Linked DNA regions of Homo sapiens: region 2 is linked to region 1. Evidence: promoter capture Hi-C in 16 types of primary human blood cells and fetal thymus (Javierre and others, 2016). All regions are on one chromosome and are shown on one strand. The core of a region is centred on a gene start or on the middle of the fragment in contact, and the rest is flanking DNA. Distances in the headings are between cores, read along the strand shown. Region 1 holds the start of RHOT1 (ras homolog family member T1). Region 2 overlaps LRRC37B (leucine rich repeat containing 37B).

Evidence for each region. The method cuts DNA at HindIII sites, captures the fragments that hold promoters and counts their contacts. A CHiCAGO score of 5 or more calls a contact.
Region 2: a contact is called between a fragment that was not itself captured here and the fragment with the promoter of RHOT1 in region 1, in 15 of 17 cell types (megakaryocytes, erythroblasts, M2 macrophages and 12 more). The highest score is 16.3, in megakaryocytes.

Annotation. Positions count from the first base shown.
Region 1 is chr17:32,141,121-32,145,393 of GRCh38, forward strand. RHOT1 (ras homolog family member T1) reads left to right here and starts at 1,382. Exons shown (of 20, transcript NM_001033566.3): 1 at 1,382-1,609. The coding sequence starts at 1,573. LOC105371730 (a long non-coding RNA gene) reads right to left here and starts at 2,015. Exons shown (of 2, transcript NR_136413.1): 1 at 1,905-2,015; 2 at 106-1,593. RefSeq lists an enhancer at 713-882 and silencers at 1,343-1,572, 1,603-1,662. The HindIII fragment of the contact is 3,152 bases long and covers 1-1,917 here.
Region 2 is chr17:32,009,816-32,014,088 of GRCh38, forward strand. All of the region lies in intron 1 of LRRC37B (leucine rich repeat containing 37B), which reads left to right. Among named protein-coding and RNA genes, the nearest start is that of LRRC37B, 4.6 kb to the left of the region's middle. The HindIII fragment of the contact is 9,549 bases long and covers 1-4,273 here.

The DNA.
Region 1 (4,273 bases), core at 132-2,631:
GCGGAGCTTGCAGTGAGCCGAGATTGCGCCACTGCACTCCAGCCTGGGCGACAGAGCGAGACTCCGTCTCAAAACAAAACCAAAACAAAACAAAAAATCTGTGGATTACAACTTTTTAGTGACTTTTTAATATAATAATGATAGCTGAGATCAGTAGAGCACACGCTCTGAGTCTGGCACTGTACCAAATGCTTGACAAGTATTATAGTATTTATTACTCACAACCATCTCAAGAGGAAGGTATTATCATCATTATTTCCATGCTACAGAAGAAGGAACAGTGGCTGAGGGAAGTAAAAATAAAAGCACTTAGTCGAGATCACAGAGCTATTATGTGGAGCCTAGATTCAAACCCAGGAAATTTGCCAGCAACTCTTAACTGCTGCAAGAGACCACATGACTTCTCCTAGGAGAAAGGGAAGTTGGTATTACGCACATTTCATTCCCTTTAAGTGTTTATTGTGTAATATTTAAGATAGAAAAAATGTACATTATGCACAGATAGTGCTTCCTCATTAATTTATGTATTTTATATTTCCCACTGTGTGCCAAGTATTAGGGATGTGATATATATTCGCACGCGTATGTATATATATATATTTGCCATTGTGTACCAAACATTAAGCATGTAACAACAAATTCCTCCAGATGGAGAGGGTCACGAGAAAATTAAGGCAATGTTAGAAAAATCATCTAGAGTTTATTATCGAGTGCCACCTCCGTGTCTAGCATTACGCTGGGTAAGCCTGAGTAAAGAAGAGTGTCCGAAAACCCTGCCATAAAATAAACTACATAGACAGAAAAAAAGTCACTTAGTTTGGTTATAAAGAAAGGAGTCTTGTTCACACAGCGTAAAAACGAATCTTATAATCGTATTTTATAAGCATCAGAGGCAAAAGCAACTAGGGTGACGGGCTTTGGGGAGTGGAAAGCGCCGGATCCTGGGAGCCAGTCGCCCTACTCGATCAAGCATTTTCTGACGGCCCTATCCAATAACGTGGGGACGCAGCTGAAAACCATGCAAGCTGATCGCTGCCCTCCCGGAGTTTATGGTCTGGTGAGAAGATCCCTGCTCTGAGTCACTGCCAAGCTCTAGCTATGTGACTTTGAACAGGGAATTTCTGTCCCTATCTATAAAATAAACGGGGTTAAACCAGGGAATCCGCCATTCAAATTCCTGGCCCAAGTGTCTCCGGGGTCGCGGTGCCCAAAGGAGGGTGGGCGAGGCTCCCTGGGCCTGCGCTGCGGCGGCCTGACAGCGGGAGCGCTGTTCCGGCGCAGAGCGCGTTCGCGTTCCGAAAGCGCGTGTCCCTCGCCGCGTGCCGTCGTCCCCGCCGCCGCCGCCGCCGCCGCCGCCGCCGCCGCCGCCGCCGCCGCCGCCACAGCCCGCTGGGCCGGAGGAGGCGGAGCTGGCGCTGTCCCGGCTCTCTTGCGGGGAAGCAACTGAGGGGGCGGCGCGGCGGGCCCCGGCGGCCGAAGAGGCTGGCAGGTGGCGCCGTGGGGTGGGTGCTCCTGGTGAGAGGAGTCCACTCCGTGCGTGCGGGCGGAGGCCGGCCCCCGAGAGCCGCCGACATGAAGAAAGACGTGCGGATCCTGCTGGTGGGAGAACGTGAGTCCGCACCCTCTGGCCGGCCCCTGAGTCCCTGCCCTCCCTGCCCCTGCAGCCCCTGTCGCCCCTGTCGCCCCTGCAGCCCCAACCTTTGCAGCCCCGGCCCTTCTCGCGCCTCACAGCTCCGCTCGCCTTTCTCCGCGTTCCTAGGCCTTCCAGCCCCTTCACTCTTCTCTTTTGGCTGGCCGCCGGCGGCCCTCACCCTGTCACCTCACCTGGGCCCTCCAGAGATCTCCTTTCCCTGTTCCCCAGCCGTCCTCCCAAGCCATGTCCCTATTAGCCCTAACCGCCCGACCTCATCCCTCCGAAGCTTCTCTCCTCCTTTTCCTCTTCGAACCCTGTCCTTCTGGGCCTCACAGTTTCCCAGGCCGCCTCCTTTCAGACCTTCTTGTCTTCTGGAGATTCCCTTATCACTGCCAGGCAGGTGCTGGAATAAGCAGACTGACCAATAGGGATTGCGTGAACCGGCTCCCGGGGAAGCTGGGGGAGGGGTGCAGAACTATTCGACTTGTGGGCAAGGTCAGGTTTCTGCATTTTTTTGGCACTCGCAGTCTTCACTCTCTCTATGTATTGACATTAAGATATGAGTAGTGGAAAGGGCCGGATCCTTTTTAGCAGTACTTGTACTTTGCATTGGACTAACTCCTCGTACTCGAGATATTTCATCAAAAATTTTTACTCAACTTCGAGTTATGCAAGCGCTCAATGAATTAGAATTATCTGGGGAGGGTCCAATTGTTGTTACCCTAAAGCGTAATCTTTGCCCTCTTTTTAAGCATTATTTATTCCATAGTTACTTCGTAGTTAACTTATTAATAACCACAGGCACACAGACATTTGATATCTCCCCCCACCCAGAAATTTCATACATTTCACCTTTTGAAAATATAATAAAGGAGAGTTCCCTCTGTTCACTGACATGAGGACGCAACAGCGGGGACTTCTTGATTTCACTCTGCAAGTTATGTAACTCAGTTGCTAGGACTAAAATAAGAAAGTGGGCCAGGGATAACTGGATTGTTTGTTTTAAAGAGTTAATACATTCGTTAATAGTCTGCCATTGCTGTTTCGAAGCATTCTGTTTTAAACCATTATTTCATTCTTGGTAACCCCTCAGGGTCACCGTGATGGAATCCCAAGGAAGAAAGTTAACACGTTTTTACCCTCTTCTGTAGTGTTCTTTGAGTTCATTGAAATTTCATCCACCTGCTGTTTGGAGAAATCTTCCTTTAGAATTAGAATTTAGGAGTAAGCTTAGCCAGCCATAGTTTACTTTTTGATTTGCAGTTGTAAATTTTTATTTTTATTTATAACTATATCTTAATCTGTATTTTTCATGGACTTCCTTGACAAGGTTCAGGAAGGTGTTATTTAACATATAATTCATGCTTATGCTTTTGGAGCAAGGTAGGGAAAGTGAGTAGACGACTTGCTTAAAAAACTGATCCTTAAATATATGATGAAATAGTTTGTTGTTGTTGTTGTTTTGAGACAGAGTCTCGCTCTGTCACCGAGGCTGGAGTGCAGTGCCTGGGATTACAGGCACTGTGGCTCATGCCTGTAATCCCAGCACTTTGGGAGGCCAAGGCAGGCAGATCACTTGAGGTCAGGAGTTCGAGACGAGCCTGGCCAACATGGTGAAACCCCGTCTCTACTAAAAATACGAAAATTAGCCGGGTGTGGTGGCACACACCTGTAGTCCCAGCTACTCTGGAGGCTGAAGCAGGAGAATCACTTGAACCCTGGAGGAGGAGGTTGCAGTGAGCTGAGACATGCCAGCCTGGGCAGCAGAGCAAGACTCTGTCTGAAAAAAAACCTTTAATAATGCTCCCACACAGCTGGGTGAGGTGGCTTATACCTGTATTCCAAGCACTCTGGGAGGCTGAGGCAGGAGGATCACTTGAGGCCAAGGAGTTTGAGACCAACCTGGGCAATGTAGTGAGATCCTGTCTCTACAAAAAATTTAAATATTAATGGCTGGGCACAGTGGCTCACTCCTGTAATCCCAGCACTTTGGGAGGCTGAGGCAGGAGGATTGCTTGAACGCAGGAGTTTGAGACCAGCCTGGGCAACATAGTGAGACCCCGCCTCAAAAAAAAAAAACCACAACACTATTAGCTAGGCATGGTGGTGTGCACCTGTAGTCCTAGCTACTGGGGAGGCTGAGATGAGAGAATTGCTTGAACCCAGAAAATCGAGGTTGCAGTGAGCCATGATCACACCACTGCACTTCAGCCCAGGTGACAGAGCAAGACTGTCTCTTAAAGAAAAAATTAATTTTTAATGGCTGGGCACAGTAGCTCATGCCTGTAACCCCAACACTTTGGGAGGCCAAAGTGGGCAGATCACCTGAGGTCAGGAGTTTGAGACCAGGAAACTGACCAACATGACGAAACCCAGTCTCTACTAACAATACAATAATTAGTCAGCTGTGGCAGCACGCACCTGTAATCCCAGCTACTCAGGAGGCTAAGGCAGGAGAATGGCTTTCACCCAGGAGATGGAGGTCGCAGTGAGCTGAGATCACACCACTGCATTCCAACCTGGGGGACAGAGTGAGACTCTGTCTCAAAAAATATATATATATATTGATAATAGTAAACAGGATAGTTTTCATTTTAATGGAGTCTTCTTTTTAAATTAAATTGAGATATATTTGTTTTC
Region 2 (4,273 bases), core at 604-3,103, 130 kb before region 1:
TTGTATTTTTAATAGAGATGGGGTTTCGCTGTGTTGCCCAGGCTGGTCTTGAACTCCTGAGCTCAGGCAATCTGCCTGCCTTGGCCTCCCAAAGTGCTGGGATTAGAGACATGAGCCACCATGCCTGGCCAATTTCTTCTTATTGGGTAGTAAGAGTTCTTTATATATTTTGGATATAAGTGCTTTGTTAGGTTCTGTGATGCTCATATATTTTCTCCCCATCTGTGCCTTGTGTTTCATTGTCTTAGCAGTGTCTTTTTCCCAGAGCATAAGTTTTAAATTTGGATGAAGTCTGCTTTACCACATTTTTTCTTTTACAGATTTGTTGTTCATCTAACAACTCTGCCTAACCCAGATCTTGCCAGACTTTTTCTGTAAAAGGTCAGATAGTAAATATTCAGCCTTGCTGTCCCTGTTGCAGCTCTGCCATTGTAGCAATGAAAGCAGTCGTAGACAATATGTAATGTCTATAGAATGAGAATAGCTGTTCCGATAAAACTTTATGAACACTGCAGTTTGAATTTCACATAATTTACAAATTATCAATTATATTGTTATTCTTTTGATTATTACAAAAACGGGTAGTGGATTGGCCATGGTTTGCTGATTCCTGGCCTGACCAACCCAAGTTCACAAAGATTTTCCTCTTTGATTTTGTTGTGGTCGTTGTTGTTCCACACCTTCTTTTTTCACTGTTTCCTTAAGGTAGAGTGTACATATTTATAAGGGTACATGTAATATTTTGATAGATTCATACAATGTGTAATGATCAAATCAGGTTAATTAGGGTATCCATCATCTCAGATGTTTATCCTTTTTTTTGTATTGGGAAGATAACAAATGTTCTAGCTATTTTAAAATATACACTAAGTTATTGTTGACTCTAGTTACCCTACTGTGCAAACAAAAACTAAAACTTATTCCTTCTATCTGACTGTGCTTTTATGCCCATCAATCAACTTGTCTTCATCCCTACCTGCTTCCCAGCCCCCAGTAACCATCATTCTACTGCCTATCTCCATGAAATCAACTTCTTAATCTCTCACATATGAATGAGAATATGCGATACTTGTCTTTCTGTCCTTGGCCTATTTCACTTAACATAATGTCCTCCAGTTCTATCCATGTTGCTGCAAATAGGTTTTATTTTCCAAACCTCTAGCTTTATAGATGAAGGATTTCACTTTTTTTTTTTTTTTGAGATGGAGTCTTGCTCTGTCACCTAGGCTGGAGTGCAGTGGCACAATCTCGGCTCACTGCAACCTCCACCTCCTGGGTTCAAGCGATTCTCCTGCCTCAGCCTCCCAAGTAGCTGGGACTACAGGCACCCGCCACCACGCCCCGCTGATTTTTGTATTTTTAGAAGAGACGGGGTTTCACTATGTTAGCCAGTCAGTTCTCGAACCCCTGACCTCGTGATCCGCCTGCCTCAGCCTCCCAAAGTGCTGGGATTACAGGTGTGAGCCACCATGCCCGGCCCGGATTTCACTTTTTTAATGGCTGAATAATATCCTATCGTGCATATATACCTCATTTTCTTTGATTTTTCTTTCTTTCTTTTCAAATAGAGATGAGGTCTCACTATATTGCCCAGGCTGGTCTTGAACTTTAGGGCTCAAGCAATCTTCCTGCCTTGGCCTCCCAAAGTGCTGGGATTCCAGGCTAAACCATTGTGCTCCTTTATGCATTTTTCTTTTTTTAAGACAGAATCTAGCTCCGTTGCCCAGAATGGAGTGCAGTGGCACGATCTTGGCTCACTGCAGCCTCCACCTCCTGGGTTGAAATGATTCTCGTGCCTCAGCCTCCCGAGTAGCTGGGATTACAGGCACCCACCACCACGCCCAGCTAATTTTGGATTTTTAGTAGAGATGGGGTTTCACCATGTTGGCCAGGCTGGTCTCAAACTCCTGACCTCAGGTGTTTCACCTGCCTCGGCCTCCCAAAGTGCTGGGATTACAGGCATGAGCCACCGCGCCCAGCCCCTTTGTGCACTTTTAAAAACATATCTTAGAATTTGTGATATATGTTTTATTTTCATTTTCATTTGGTTCACAATATAGTAAAATTTCTATTATGACTTACTCTTTGACCCATGATTTGTTTTAAAACGTATTGTTTAATTTTCAAACATTTAGGGATTTCCCAGATATCTTTGTTGTTGGTTTCTAATTTGATTCCATTATGGTTAGAGACCATACTTGGTATGATGAATTAAAAAAAAAAATTTAGAGGTTTGTATATGGCCTGAAACATTTTTTAGGTGAGTGTTCAGTTTGTAATAGGAAAGATGTGTCCTGCTGCCGTTAGGTAAAGTGTTTCATAAGTAATAATTAGGTCAAGTTGGTTGATCGTGTTAAGGTCTGCTCTATCCTTGCTGATTTCCTGTCTGCTTGTTCTAGTGATTACTGAGAAAGGAGTGTTGAAGTCTACAACGATTGTTATGGGTTTGTTCTCTTTCTCCTTGAAATTCTGTCTGTTTATGCGTCCTGTATTTTGAGGCCCTGTTGTTAGATGCAGAAACATTTACAGTTTTGTCCTCTTGATGATTATTTGACCCCTTTATCATTCTGAAATAACCTTTATTTCTGGTAATAATCATTATACTAAAAACCATTATTTGGCCAGGCATGGTGGCTCACGCCTGTAATCCCAGCACTTTGGGAGGCCAAGGCGGGTGGATCACCTGAGGTCAGGAGTTCAAGACCAGACCGGCCAACATGGCGAAACCCCGTCTCTACTAAAAATAGAAAAACAGCCTGGTGTGGTGGCACACGTCTGTAGTCCCAGCTACTTAGAAGGTTGAGGCAAGAGAATCACTGGAATCCAGGTGGTGGATATTGCAGTGAGCTGAGATCACACCACTGCATCCCAGCCTGGGAAGCAGAGCAAGACTCCATCTCAAATAAATACATACATACAGGCCAGGTGCGGTGCCTCACGCCTGTAATCCCAGCACTTTGGGAGGCCGAGGAGGGTGAATCACCTGAGGTCAGGAGTTCGAGACCAACCTGGCTAAGATGGTGAAACCCCGTCCCTACTAAAAATACAAAAATGAGCCAGGCGCGGTGGCAGGCACCTGTAATCCCAACTACTTGGGAGGCTGAGGCAGGAGAATTGCTTGAAGCCGGGAGGCAGAGGTTGTAGTGAGCCGAGATCGTGCCACTGCACTCTAGCCTGGGTAACAGGGCAAGACCCCGTCTTGAAAACAGACAGACAAACAAAAAACCATTATTTAATACTAATATAAAATTAGTGTTTTATATTAGTAACATAATACTGTTTTTGACTAGTGTTAGAATGACATATCTTTCCCTACCCTTTTGCTTTTAATCTATATATCATGATATTCGTTTACTTTCAATTTATAAAAATAGAGATGGGGTTTTGCCATGTTGCCCAGGCTGGTCTTGAATTCCTGGGCTCAAGGCATCTGCCCACCTCAGCCTCCCAAAATGCTGGGATTATAGGTGTGAGCCACCATGCCTGGCCACATCATTATATTTTCAAATGGTTTCTTGTTTTTTTTATTTTTCTTTTAAATGTAATCTGACAGCATCTTTTAATTAATGTGTGTTGGACCATTTACATTTAATACGATTGATAATGACTGGATTTAGGTTTCCTATTTTATTATTTGTTTTCTGATTATCTCTTTTTTGGGGGGTTTCTTCTGTTTCTTTTTTCTGCCTACTTTTGGATTAATTGAATATTTTTTAGTGTTTTGTTTTATTAAATGGCTTTTGGTCATATCTGGGCTATGTTTTTGCTGTAGGAATTACAAAATATACACCTAACCTACCTACTTAGAGTTAGCCTTTTACCTCTAAATACAACGTCAAAGTATTGCAACCATATAGGTTTCTTTATTCTAGTCCCCCTCCCTTATAATTGTATATGTGTGTGTGTGTGTGTGTGTGTGTATCTATATACACTTTCAATGTATGTAGGTATATAGATATGTATCTATACTTTCAATGTATATCTACATGCATACATTGTATATGTATGTAGACATATATCCACATACATTGAAAGATATATATCTATATACATATACAATGCATGTATGATACCTTTGGCCACTACATCCTTCTTAAATTTCCTGTTGCCACTCATGACCCAATTTCCTTGACCAGTTATTCCTCCTTCAAACATCCCTCTTACATGTGATAGTCCTCAGCATTTAGTTTCCTCAACTTTCCCCTAATTATCAGTTGACTCAATTACCACCAAAATATCAATGACTTCTAGATCCATTTTCCTACCTAGACCT